Regions from separate parts of the Homo sapiens genome. Here region 2 is linked to region 1. The links are contacts of gene promoters, found by promoter capture Hi-C in blood cells and fetal thymus (Javierre and others, 2016). All regions are on one chromosome and are shown on one strand. Each heading gives the region's core, a stretch centred on a gene start or on the middle of the fragment in contact. The rest is flanking DNA. Distances are from core to core; before and after follow the strand shown.

What was found. Contacts are between HindIII fragments. The CHiCAGO score rates a contact against its expected background, and 5 or more counts as called.
Region 2: a fragment that was not itself captured here is called in contact with the fragment with the promoter of HS3ST2 in region 1 in 1 of 17 cell types (M0 macrophages); the score reaches 6.5 in M0 macrophages.

Annotation. Positions count from the first base shown.
Region 1 is chr16:22,809,086-22,815,685 of GRCh38, forward strand. It overlaps HS3ST2 (heparan sulfate-glucosamine 3-sulfotransferase 2), which reads left to right and starts at 5,077. Exons shown (of 2, transcript NM_006043.2): 1 at 5,077-6,010. The coding sequence starts at 5,526. It overlaps LOC107984851 (collagen alpha-1(XVI) chain), which reads right to left and starts at 5,774. Exons shown (of 4, transcript XR_001752349.2): 1 at 5,622-5,774; 2 at 3,902-4,179; 3 at 3,198-3,316; 4 at 1-1,552. The HindIII fragment of the contact is 5,471 bases long and covers 1,190-6,600 here.
Region 2 is chr16:22,689,272-22,696,018 of GRCh38, forward strand. No RefSeq gene overlaps it. Among named protein-coding and RNA genes, the nearest start is that of LINC02890, 79 kb to the left of the region's middle. The HindIII fragment of the contact is 1,092 bases long and covers 4,864-5,955 here.

The DNA.
Region 1 (6,600 bases), core at 3,827-6,326:
ATGATGCGAGTAAATGCTCAATAAATGGTACCTATTATTTCTGGCAAAAACAGAAGTCACCTACATGGAGAATAACAAAGCGTTTGGAATCTTATAGAGTTCTTAAAAATCAACCAGGTCTCCGGTCTTCTAGATTTGGATCATTTCTACAGGCAGTATCTGGAAGCCCCTTGAGCTTTTACCCTCTGATTTTATCCAAAGAATGAAGCACAACTGAAATCTCTCATTCTCGCTCTCAACCTCTTTCCTAAATGTAGCAGATATATGCACATCCTCTGATTCAGATGCAAACTTTGTACCTCACAGACCCTGCAGACCATGTGGCTCCACTTCACTGTCCTTTGCCTCATAGGAGTCACCCTCTTTGGGACATTTTCTCACATTTTTGCAAAACTCTGCTTTAGGGAACAGATTTGAAGCTTACACACTGAAATAAAACTGAATAACAAGGCTTGATTAGGCCCAAAGACTGAAGGGGAAGAAAATTTCCTATTTTATGATTTTAAATTCAAAGTCTTGAATGCAGGGCATTAGAGTGGGAAGGAAGATTCAAGAGAATGCTAATGTGAAAGAGAAATGGACTCAGAAAAAGAAAAGAAAGAGAGTGTAATGTGCTCTTTGGTTGCTATTCTATTTGAGCCCAGTTCTCCAGCCTTCTTCTTAATTTTGTGAGCTACCCCAAAGTTCCTTTCCTGTGTAAGATATCCCAAATCTCTTTTTTTCACTTCTAGTAACCCTTACTGTTTCATAAATAAAGAGCAATGGCAGTTAAGAATGAGAAGCAAAATAAATAAGATACAAGAAAAGTAGAGAAGTTGAAGAAAGTAACTGGATCCTATGACTGTCTCAAATTTGGAAGGGTTGCAGTCCTGATACATGCATATCCTTCAAAATAAGCCCCCCCACCTCCAACACTTTTTATTAAAATGGTATCTATTCCTTGCAACGGAGGGAGCAACTCTTTTTGTTTGTTTGTTGTATTGGTCAGCACTCTTTCAGTTGCAAGTGCTAACAGAAAGATAGCTAATCACTGCAGCAATAAAGTCCAGGGTCCATGCATTCCGCATGGCTAGATTCAGAGGTTCAAAGGATATTATCAGGAATCTAATTCTCCCTCCATCAGTTCTGCTCTCCTCTTTGTTGGCTTTATTGTTGGTTTCTCCTCTTGATAGCAGAGATGACCATTGGAAGCTTCAGGCTTATTTTAGATTAATTCATCATCTCAGAAAAAGAAGTTTCTCTTTTCCAATAGTTTTCACAAATGTTGTGTGGTTTATTCTCACTAGAAAGATTTGAGTTACTTTCAGTTCTTGAAATATAATTAGAAAGTGATGATGTCAGGCTTGGTCATATGCCTGTCTTTGAACTATGTTCAACCCATACAAACCACATGGGAATAAAAGAGGGAAAACTGTTTGTCCAAGGATGGCAAGGATTACTAGTTGTCCTCCATAACCATTCTTTAGTTCTTTCTTGATACCAAAATCTCAAAGTGTTAGCCAGGCATACAGCCATCCAGAATCAAGACTGCATTTTGAAGCATCTCTTGAAGCTAGAAAGTCAAATGATAAAATGCTGTCAAATTGAATACGAGTTGAAATAATACAGGCAACTTCCAAGAAATGTCCTTAAACAGATATGGCATGTCTTTACATATTTACTAATGACCAGAATGTGAACATTCTGGCTGCAGATGAATAAGTCATTGTAGACTATGTGGTGACTTTAGAATGGAGGAAATGCATGGTAGAGTAACAAGATAGAGGGAGCCTGGGTCCCAAACACTTTGGAGCTTCCATACAAGCCCTAAAGTACCTTCATCTGGACTTTCATGTGATTACAAAAATAAACATATACCTTGCTTAAGTGGGTGTTAATTGACAAACTACACAACCCAGCATAATCCTACCTGATACCCCCAAAGCAGAATCACGTTTGCTACTGTAAACAGATAAAGGTTTAGGAGATGGGCAGGTATGTCCAATGTCTCACTTCCTAAAAAATTCTATCCAAGTCAGTCATTACTCTGATTGGAAATTTGAAGAGGAAAATCTTCCTGGTTTTGATATATGTGAGTACCCAGGGATATCACAGTTTATGAATTCAAAGGTTAAAAATTATTTAAAAATTAAGCCAAGCACAGAATTATGAGAAATCATTATATTCATGTTTTATTTTCTAAGGGAAATAGTACTGATCACAGCAGATGACTCCACATTTAACCTTGTAATTTTAACAATGGAATACAAAAATAGCAGGTTCATGATGTGAATAATTGTTCAAAGTATATATAAGAGCTCCTTCCAGGCCAGGCATTGTGGCTCATGTCTGTAATTCTAGCACTTTGGGAAGCTGAGGCAGGAGGATCACTTGAGCTCAGGAGTTCAAGACCAGCTTGGGCAACACAGTAAGACTTCATCTCTACAAAAAATTAAAAAACTAGCTAGGTGTGGTGGCACATGCCTGTAGTCCTAGCTACTCAGGAGGCTGAGGCAGGAGGATCCCTTGAGCCCAGGAAGTGGAGGCTGCAGCATGAGCTATGATTGCACTACTGCATGCCAGCATGGTCAACAGAGTGAGACACTTCCCCTCACCCAAAAGAAGAAGAAGAACTCCTTTAAGTATATTTGTTTTGACATTTTTATTAACAATTAGAATGAGGAATTAATTAAATTGTGATCAACTGTGGAAATTACATGATGCCAAGTGAGTGGTTCATGCTTTGGGTAATGGAATCATAGAATCATGCAACATCTAAACTTTGAGAGACTTTTAAGGTGAATCATAGCGTCCCATTTTACAGCTGAGGAACCTGAGGCTTAAAGGGGGTCCACTTGCCCAAAGTACACCTGGAATAAAGGGTAAAGCTGGGATACAATCTTTCTACTTTTTCTTTTTGAATAAATGAAAGCTACCTCGTGGTTTGACTTCAAATAGACATTTAAAAAAAACTAGGGCAGCGAACTGATGAGACAAGATGAAATGCAATCAAGTCAAATCTATAAGGACCTACACATTGGGTCCAAAAAGGCCCACTGTACAAGCACAGTATGGGGTAGCTGTGCCTTAATCAGCAGCACTTGTAAGAAACATTTAGAGATGTTACTTGGCTGCAAGTTTGAGATGTCAGCAGTGTGATATAGCCACAAGAAAAAGATAATGGAGTCTTAGGTGGCATTACTAGAAATAGAACTTACAAAAGAGAGGTGAGAGTCCTGTTGAACTTTTCAATCCATATCTGAAATTCCTCGCGCAGTCCCAGGTGTGAGATTTTAGAAGAGACATAGACAAATTAGCTTACATCCAGGAGAGGAGCCTAGGATGGAATTATATGAATAATGGTCAAAGGAAGTTAGGAAGCTGCAAAGTGCTGTAACTAAGAGCTTGAATCTTGGAGTCAAGACTGCCCGGGTTTAATCCCAGCTCTGCCAGTTACTGTGTATATGTTTGTTAAATCTTCTTATCACTGCCTGTAGATTAGAAATTACAATAATACCTATCTCCAAAGATAAATGAGGTAGTGCATGTCAAGTGATTAGCGCATAACTCCCATAAAACAAGCACTCAATAAATGCTAGCTACTATTAGAATTAAGACAGCAAAGTGATGCCAGGGTAATGGTAACAACTTCATAGGTTGTGAATATTTAATCAGTTAACCCATGCCAGGTGCTTGATACAAAGTTGGCAGCTATTATTATTATCTGCCGTAGAATTGGTTTAAGGTTTCTAGGGATGGGACTAGTTTGGGGACAAAATATTTTCTGGTTTGGGCTAAGATCCACAGAACCTAATGATCAGTTTACAGCCTGAGGAAGGAAGTCAGTTATACCCTGATCAGGGTGGGGGTCATGGTGGTCATCTAGACATTCTATGGCTGGGTGGTGGTGGAGGGCACTCACCTTGTGAACACTCGGACATGGTGAATTGGCATTGGCATTGCTGTTGAAGGACAACTCAGCCGTGTTCTTAGCCATGGCCATTTAGGCCTGTTCTGATGCAGGGTTCTGATCCAAGGTACCAGTGTGGTCCCTCAGGGAAGTACTGGGGATCGTCACTTATGCCTGTTCTGGACATGGTCACCGAGAACTGTCCTGTAGGCATTCACTTAGGAATCATTCGAAGTGGAATTGCTCCTGGATACGTTCTCCTTGTACTCTGTTTCCTCCTCCTAGTGTCTCTGTGTGAAGAAGCCCTCCTCACTCAGCCCTCGGCGACCCTCTGGTACCCTGGACAGCTCCCCGGGGAGCAGTCTACCGCTAGGCGGCGGCTGCTAAGAGAGGAACCCTCCTGACGCGGAGTCTGCCGCTCCGGGGCTCGCTCTCCGGCAGGCCCGGGGAGAGGTGGGGTGACAATGGGTTGGGGTGCGCGCGTGCCTCATAGGTGCGAGACAGAGCGAGCCGCCGGGGTGTGAGTCAGCGCGCTGGGGGCTAAGAAGCTGGGTGAATAGTCACGGAATCTCACTCACGCTCGGCTCCTCCACCCATCCCGTCTACAGCGCGTGTCCCAGTCCAGGGCGTGCGTGCGCTCGGTGTCCGATTCCGGGCTGTGTGTGTCCATTTGGCGAGATGTCGAGAGCGGGGGGAGTGTCCTTGTCGGTGTATCTGGGCCCAGGTTAGGGGACTTCTCCTCCCCACCCCCGCGTGGGTGTGGGGGTGTGTCCGGGCTAGGGCGCGTGTGCTTCTGTGCCTGTGCGTGCGTGTGCGGGTCAGGGTGGTGGGACCGCGCATCAGGGCAGGGTGCCTGCGTCTGCGTCTGGGTCTGTCTGGTCTGCATGTCGGCGCGATCTCGACCTGGATTCGTGTCCCTGGATGTCGAGAGGCCAGCGTGGTGGGGGTGTCCAGCCTCCCGGAGGAGTACTATGCCTTGACACCTTCGTTTCACCGCCCCAAAGCTGGCCTGGGGCTCCGTAGGGAGTGGCCTGCATGGGGAGGGCCCGCGTGCTGTGTTTCTGGGAGGGGTAAGAGAGTGGGGGCGCAGGGGGCGGGCCAGGTCCCTGGGCGCGGCGCGGGCTCGGGGGACCCGCGCGGCTGACGTCAGGCCACTCCTTAAATAGAGCCGGCAGCGCGCTCCGCTCGGCATTTCCCGAAGAGCCAGATCGCGGCCGGCGCCAGCGCCACCGTCCGGTCCACCCGCCAGCCCGCACAGCCGCGCCGCCGCCGAGCGTTTCGTGAGCGGCGCTCCGAGGATCAGGAATGGGGCTTCGGGCGCTGGGCGCGCTCCGAACCCGGCGCACGTAAGAGCCTGGGAGCGCCCGAGCCGCCCGGCTGCCCGGAGCCCCATCGCCTAGGACCGGGAGATGCTGGAAATGCAACCGCCTGTTCCCCGAGGAGCCGCTGCCCCCGGGACCCCCTGGCACTGTGCGCACCCTGGTCAGCAGCCCCCGGAGAAGACGGCGCCCCCAACGCCCGACCCGCGTGGCCGTGGCAGCGCCACGCGAGCCCTCTAGGCGACCGCAGGGCCACAGCAGCTCAGCCGCCGGTGCCCCCTCGGAAACCATGACCCCCGGCGCGGGCCCATGGAGCCATGGCCTATAGGGTCCTGGGCCGCGCGGGGCCACCTCAGCCGCGGAGGGCGCGCAGGCTGCTCTTCGCCTTCACGCTCTCGCTCTCCTGCACTTACCTGTGTTACAGCTTCCTGTGCTGCTGCGACGACCTGGGTCGGAGCCGCCTCCTCGGCGCGCCTCGCTGCCTCCGCGGCCCCAGCGCGGGCGGCCAGAAACTTCTCCAGAAGTCCCGCCCCTGTGATCCCTCCGGGCCGACGCCCAGCGAGCCCAGCGCTCCCAGCGCGCCCGCCGCCGCCGTGCCCGCCCCTCGCCTCTCCGGTTCCAACCACTCCGGCTCACCCAAGCTGGGTACCAAGCGGTTGCCCCAAGCCCTCATTGTGGGCGTGAAGAAGGGGGGCACCCGGGCCGTGCTGGAGTTTATCCGAGTACACCCGGACGTGCGGGCCTTGGGCACGGAACCCCACTTCTTTGACAGGAACTACGGCCGCGGGCTGGATTGGTACAGGTAAGGACCAGGAGCTCCGCTCCGTGCGCCGGGTCTCTGATCGCTTCCATTGGGAGAGCCATCCGTCTCTTGTGTTTTCTCTTTCTTTTAACCCAACTCATTGTATGGGTTCAGGCTGACACACAGGGCCATGGGGGGCTATAGCAGAATTTACCCAGAACTTCCCAGTGATAATCTAGACGGGCAGTTTCTGGAACTGCAAAGGGCGTTCCCTCGTCACTGGAGTCGTTGGAAAAGGATTATCTCCAGTCAAACCTAAGTGCCAGCTAAAGGGCTAACTCCCTCTGTGACCAGCCCTTAGGGTGCCCAAGGAAGGGACAGGCGAGGACCTGTGCTGCCTGAACACGGCACCATCCTAACCCTCTGTAGGTCTTTGCTGGTACCCAGCCCCTGAAGGACCCTGAGAAAGATAAGGCAGTTCAGAGACCCCTTGCAGCAAGGCTCTGTTTGGGAAAGGTCCCCAGAGTTCAGGCCAAATGACAGTGCATCGCCAGAGGTCTCCAGTAAGAAAGATGCCTTAGGGAGTCTCAATCTCAAACCCAGGTATTTGCTGCTGTACTGGGGCTGAGACCCCCAGTAGCTCTGGCCCT
Region 2 (6,747 bases), core at 4,160-6,659, 120 kb before region 1:
ATTACAGGCATGCACCACCACACTCAGCTAATTTTAGTATTTTTAGTACAGATGGGGTTTTACTATGTTGGCCAGGCTGGTCTTGAACTCCTGACTTCAAGTAATCCACCTGCCTCGGTCTCCCAAAGTGCTGGGTTTACAGGCATGAGCCACCATGCCTGGCCTATTTTGGTATTTAACTTCTCTTGGCAGTAGTTAGTAATTTTCATAGTATAAGTTTTTCACATCTTTTGCCAGATTTATCTCTAAGTATTTAATATTTTTGATGTTATTGTGAATGGTATTGTTTATTAATTTCAATTTCTGGTTGTTTATTGGCATCATATAGATATATAATAGGTTTTTGTATCTTGAGATTGTATCCTGCAACTTCACTAAACTCAATTATTGGTTCTAGTAGCTTATTTGTTGCTTCTATCAGATATTCTGCATAGATGACCACATCATCTGTGAAGAAAGAGAGTTTTACTTCTTTCCTATCTGAATGCCACTTTTTTCTTTGCACTACTGCACTGGTTAGAACCTTTAGTACAATGTTGAATAGAAGCAGTGATAGTGAACATACTTGCCTTGTTCTTATCCTCAGAGGAAAGCACTTATTCTTTCATTATGATGTTTGCTATAGGTTATTTGAAGATGCTACATAGTTGAAAATGTTCTCTTCAGGTTCTACATTGCTGAAAATTTTTATTAGAAACGAATGTTGTTAAATATTTGCAAACGAGTTTTTTGCATCTATTGAGATAATTTTTTTTTCTTTTTTAGTTTGTGAATTTGGTAAACTACTTGATTTGTTTTTGAATGTTAAACCAACCTTGCATTTCTGGGATGAAGCACTACTCATCATAATGTATTATCCTTTTTACGTATTGTGGGATTCAATGTGCTAATATTTTGTTTTGCAGTTTTACATGTATAGTCATGAAGAATATCCATCTGCAGCCTTCTTTTCCTGTAATATCTTTGTCTGATTTTAATGGTAGGGTGATAGTGGTCTTATAGAGTCAGCTGGGGAGTATTCTTCCCTGTCCTATTTTCTGGATGACTTTATACAGAATTGGAACTTGCCAAGTATGTGAGCTTGGGGAACATGCATCTGCAAAATTGAGGAATAACAATGCAGTAGTGCCTACATCACAAAATTGTTGTGAGAATTAAATGAGATGATGTATACATTCAATAACTTTTACGTGTTATAATTATTACCATAAGCCAGTGTCTCCGAGACAAGACTAAACTGGAGAATGGGATAGAAAAGGGCCTCAAGGAAGGGTATGGACTGTTTTTCTCTCCAGATATGGTCTCACTTGGGCCTTCATGTGCCTTACTCCTTAAGGTCATTGGAAAGACAAAAACTGGCCCCCCTACTTAATCTCTGCCCACATTAATTAACTTCTGCTAGCCTTGTTTTCTTCATTCACAAGGAAGGGATATTATTAATAGCAAATATTTGTTGGGCACTTTCTAGATGCCAGACACTGTCCTGAGCACTATCCATGTGTCATCACTTAATCTTCACGGCAGCTTATGAGGTAGGTACTATTATGATCCCCAATTTTGGTGATGGGAAACTGAGGCAGAGAGCTGTTAGTAACATTTAAAGTCACACAGCTAATAAATGGCAGAACTGGGATATGAACCCAGGCAGTTCGGCTCTAGAGTGCACTTTCTTACCCTTTCTCTCTTCTTACCTTATAGATGTTGTTGTCATTGGTGGTGGTGGTGGTGGTGTGTGTGCATGTTGATTGAGATAACCTGGAACACATGAAAGATGTCAATAAATGTCACTTTACTTTCCACAAGTTCTACAAAACTCTGGAAGGAATAGCACACTGATTATTTTGTCTTCTCTCAACTTCCATCCCCATGCCAGCCCCAATCCAGGGCTGACTCCAATTAGAAGAGGCTCTGTTTCAGCAGACAGGATAAGCTGTAGTCCCAGAAGAACCCTGACTCTCAGGGTAGAGTGCAATGCCAAGGCCCCCTGGCCCTTTGCTACTCAAAGTGTGGTCCTGGGACCAGCAGCATTAGTATCATCTGGGAGCTTGTTAGAAATGCATGATCTCAGGCTTCACTATGACCTACTGCACCAGAATTTGTATTTTAACAAGACCCCAGGTGATTTGTGTGCACATTAAAGTCTAGGAATCACTGCCCAAAATCAATACTTTTTCTGTTTGATCCTTCCAAGCGGTCACTCATTTGCTGAGGTGATGGGAGTTCACCAATGCATCCCTTCACAGATGCGATGTTTATATTGAGTACACATTTATCTTCTCTGTGCAGGAGATGCAAAGTCAAATCCCTTCAGTTGGCCAGATGGGAACTCTGGTAGAGTGTGCATGTTCTGTCTAAAAGGGACAGCTACCATTTCACTCCAGCCAACTGCTACATGGAAACGCTATCCCAGTGTTTAGATCTTCTGATATTTTCTTTTAAGATGGGCCTCACTCTGTTGCTCAGGTTAGAGTGCAGTGGCATGATCACAGCTCACTGCAGCCTCAACTTCTCAGGCTCAAGTGATTCTCCTGAGTCAGCCTTTGGAGTAGTTGGGACTATAGGCATGCACCACCATGCCTGGCTTATTAATTTTTTTTTTTTTTAGTAGAGACAAGAGCTTGCTATGTTGCCCAGGCTGTTCTTGAACTCCTGAGCTTGAATGAGGTGTGATCCCCACACCTGTTGGGATCTTCTGATATTTTAATCAAAGCTGGAAATGTGGATCTTCATCTGAAATCTCTTATTTGTTAAATGTTAATAACTAATTCAAACTAGTAAAATAACTTTGAGGGCCAAAGAAGCATGTGTGCTGGCCATATTCTCCAAGGGATGCCAGCTTGTGACCTCTGACCTAAAAATGACTTCTAAAGAGTGCAGCTTCTCAAATAAATCAAGTATGTATTGTACATGACAGTCTTTTGAAAGTTCAGAGGTTTTTGCAAAGCATGCAAGATTTTCCATTACTTGGTTGTCTCTACTGTCAGCTACACTCAACCACAAATATTTAATTGCTGTTTCATCTTCTGTACTTTGGCATGTATCTGTTCTCTTTGCTTTGACTATCCATTCCCCTTCATCCGTCTAGCTAGCTTTGATTCATCCTTCAAGATGCAAACCAAATTTCACCTCCTCTGTGAATATTTTCTGGTTTCCCTCCATTACAGTTGCCCACTAGTGCAATTCTCCACCCTGGGCCATGTTGTGCTGGAATCATTTGTTTATATCATTGTTTCCCCTATAAATGCTCAGACGTCAGGGACCAAGTCTTATTCCTAACATCTAGGAAGTGTTAGGCACAGAGTAGATGCACTCACTAACTATTGCAGCATAACCAATCACTCCACAACTTAGCAGCTTGAAACAGCAAACATTTATTGTCTCAGTTTCTGTGGGTTAGGAATTTGGGCATGGCTTTCCTGTGTATCTCTGGCTTGAGGTTGCTTACCAGGTTGCAGTCAGACCTCAAAGTCTCTTACCAGGTTGCAGTCAGAGTACATGCTGGAGCTGTGGTCTCATGTGAAGTCTCAGCTGGGGAGAATCTGCTTCTAGGCTCCCTCCCATGGTTTTTGGAAGGTTTCAGTTATTTGTAGGCTGTTGGAGCTAAGGGTCTAGGGTCTCGGTTTCTTGCTGACTGCTGGCCAGAGGACTTCCTCAGTTCTTTGTCACTGGGATCCTTGGACAGCTCACAACATGGCAGCTGGCTTCCCTTGGAGTGAGAGTGAGAGAGTGCTCCAGACGGAAGATGCCATCTCTTTGTAATCTAATTCCAGAAGTGACATCTCTCCTCTTCTGCATTCTGCTTGCTAGAAGTCGGCCACTAAATAAAGCCCACACACAAGCGGGGAGGGAATTACACAAGAGTGGGGCTACCAGGAGGCAGGGAGTATTGAGGTCATCCAAGAAGCTGCGTACCGAAATGCCCTGCTTATAGTTATGTGCTGTGGTTACTCAGCCTTGGGATTCAGATTGCCCAGGTTCAAATCTTAGTCCTGTCACTCTGTGAAAGTTTACTTACCTGTAATGGGCATCAAGGGCTTCTTGACCCATAGAATTGATATGGGGACTGTGTTTAACAGAATGCCTGCTTGCCTCTAAAAAGGTGACCTATGATTAATGTTGTTTTAAGAAATGATGATGATGATTTTTTTTTTTTGAGATAGGTTCTCTCTCTGTCACCCAGGCTGGGGTGCAGTGCCATGAACATGACTCACTGCAGCCTGGACCTTCTGGACTTAAGTGGCCTCCTGAGTAGCTGGGACCACACGTGAATGCCACCATGCTTGGGTAATTTTTAAAATTTTTGTAAAGAGAGGGTCTCACCATGTTGCCCAGGCTGATCTTGAACTCCTGGGCTCAAGGAATCCTCCTGCCTTGGGCTCCCTAAGAGTTGGGATTACAGGTGTGAGCCACCGTGTCTGGCCAAAGTAATGATTATTGAATGTATCATAGGTATCTAGGTAAGAGAGTGACCATACGAAAAAATGGAAGAAGCATGACTGGTTATATGCTCAGTTCTCTGAATCACCCCCTCCGACTCAAGTTCCTCATTTCTAGATTTTTTCCTTCCTATAAATTAGCTTGATCTTTCCCTGGTATGACTCCTACAACTCTGCCCCGGCCTCCAAGTCTAAGTGAGCTCTCCCTATTGTGCTCAAATCCTGTCCTTTTCCCACACCAGATCATTTTAACCCTTGCCATTCTTCAAGCCAACAATTCTCCCAACAATTTATTTCTTCCGCTCCCACCACTCCAGTGCTCAGTCAGTGAGTGATTCTGGGAAGAGTGGTCTGGCTGGGTTGGATGGCCAGGTCTATTTCAAGTTCATCTCAGCTGTCTGGTCATTTTTTATTTAAAAAAAAAAAAAGCTTTGGGAAGTAGTCTATTTAAACACACGTAAGCAGCTGTTCCTCCCTTTCCACCTGCTTTCATCCCTTTCTCAGCAGATGGGATCATCATCTATTTTATTGAAATAACAATAATACCCCCAAGTTTTGTTTTGTTTCATTTTGTTTTTATGAGACGGACTCTTACTCTGTCTCCCAGGCTGAAGTGCAGTGGCACGATCTTGGCTCACTGCAACCTCTGCCTCCTGGGTTCAAACGATTCTCCTGGCTCAGCCTCCTGAGTAGCTGGGATTACAGATTTGCGCCACCATGCCTGGCTAATTTTTGTATTTTTAGTAGAGATGGGGTTTCACCATGTTGCCCAGGCTGGTCTTGAACTCCCGACCTTAAGTGATCCACCAGCCTTGGCCTCCCAAAGTGCTGGGATTACAGGCATGAGCCACTGTGCCCCGCAAATACCCCCAAGTTTACTGACCTCTTAACTATGTTAGATGCCAATCTAAGCCCCTTTAATGGATTATCTCCATTGTCACAATAACTCCTACGAAGATAGTACTGGGACTATCCTATTTTACATATAAGGAAAGTTAGGCTCAGAGATATGGAATGATTGACAAATGTCCAACAGTAGAGCTGAGATGTGAATCCATGTTAACCTGATCCCCAAATTGAAGCTCTTACCCACTTTTACTGAAAAGCCGTTTGGATTCTTTAGTCCACCTACTTTCTATCTCTGCTTAATGGGCTGCAAGATGCCCATTTCACTGAACTTGTTTCTCCTAAGGACCTGCAGGCTGCTTTGCTGAATGCTCCTCCTCCGCCTTGATCCTGCTTTGGCATTCCAAACTGCTGGGTTTGTGATCCTTTTTGGATCTCTTCACTAGTTTATGGGGCTCTGCATGCTCTTGGCTCTCCAACAACCACTAGAACTTCTTACTGACCGGCTGTTTTCATTCCATCCCTTAAATGTCAGCATGTTCTGAGGTTCTGTCTCAGCCTTCCTTGCAGGCTACACATTCTCCCTGGGTGACCTCATGTCCTCTCGTAGCTCCAGAATCGTTGCTTCTTAAATAATCTCTCTGTTAATTTTTTAGTCCCTGCTTTTATTTGAAGCTTCTGATCTGCCTTTCTAACCAGTGGGTGTTCTGGGAGTGCTTCAAAATCAGCTTGACTCAACTCAATGTCATCTTTCCCGAAATACTCTCTTCACCCGTGTTCCTTAGCCTAGTAGTAAAAACAGTCTACCCAGTCTGGACTTTAGTTAACAAATTCTGTTTATTTCTCCAAAGCAGTACCAGCGATTATTCCTCTGGAAAGACCTCTGTCTCAGCTCAATTTTCCTCTACCATTTGACTGGACTATTGCAATAATTTCCTAAGGGTCTCTCTGTCTTCAGAATCCTCACTGCTATCCATCTCCAAAGACATAGACCTATTTATGTTATTTGGCATCTTGAATTTTTCCTGCTATATATTTCATAAATACCAGATTTCTTGGACTAGCATTCCATGACCTTCTCATATTGCCCACACTGACTTTGCTAAGTTTATTTAATTATTAAAAGTACTATGTGGGGCTGGGCGCAGTGGCTCACTCCTATAATACCAGCACTTTGGGAGGCTGACGCTGGAGGATTACTGGAGCCAGGAGTTTGAGACCAGCCTGGGCAATATGGAGAAACCTTGTCTCTACGAAGAAAAATGCAAAAATTAGCTGGATGCGGTGGCACGCCTGTAGTCCCAGCTACTTAGGAGGCTGAGGTGGGAGGATCGCTTGAGCCCAGGATATGGAGGATGCAGTGAGCTGTGACTGCACCACTGCACTACAGCCTGGGCAACAGAGCGAGATCCTGTATCAAAGTCCCAGCTACTTAGGAGGCTGAGGTGGGAGGATCGCTTGAGCC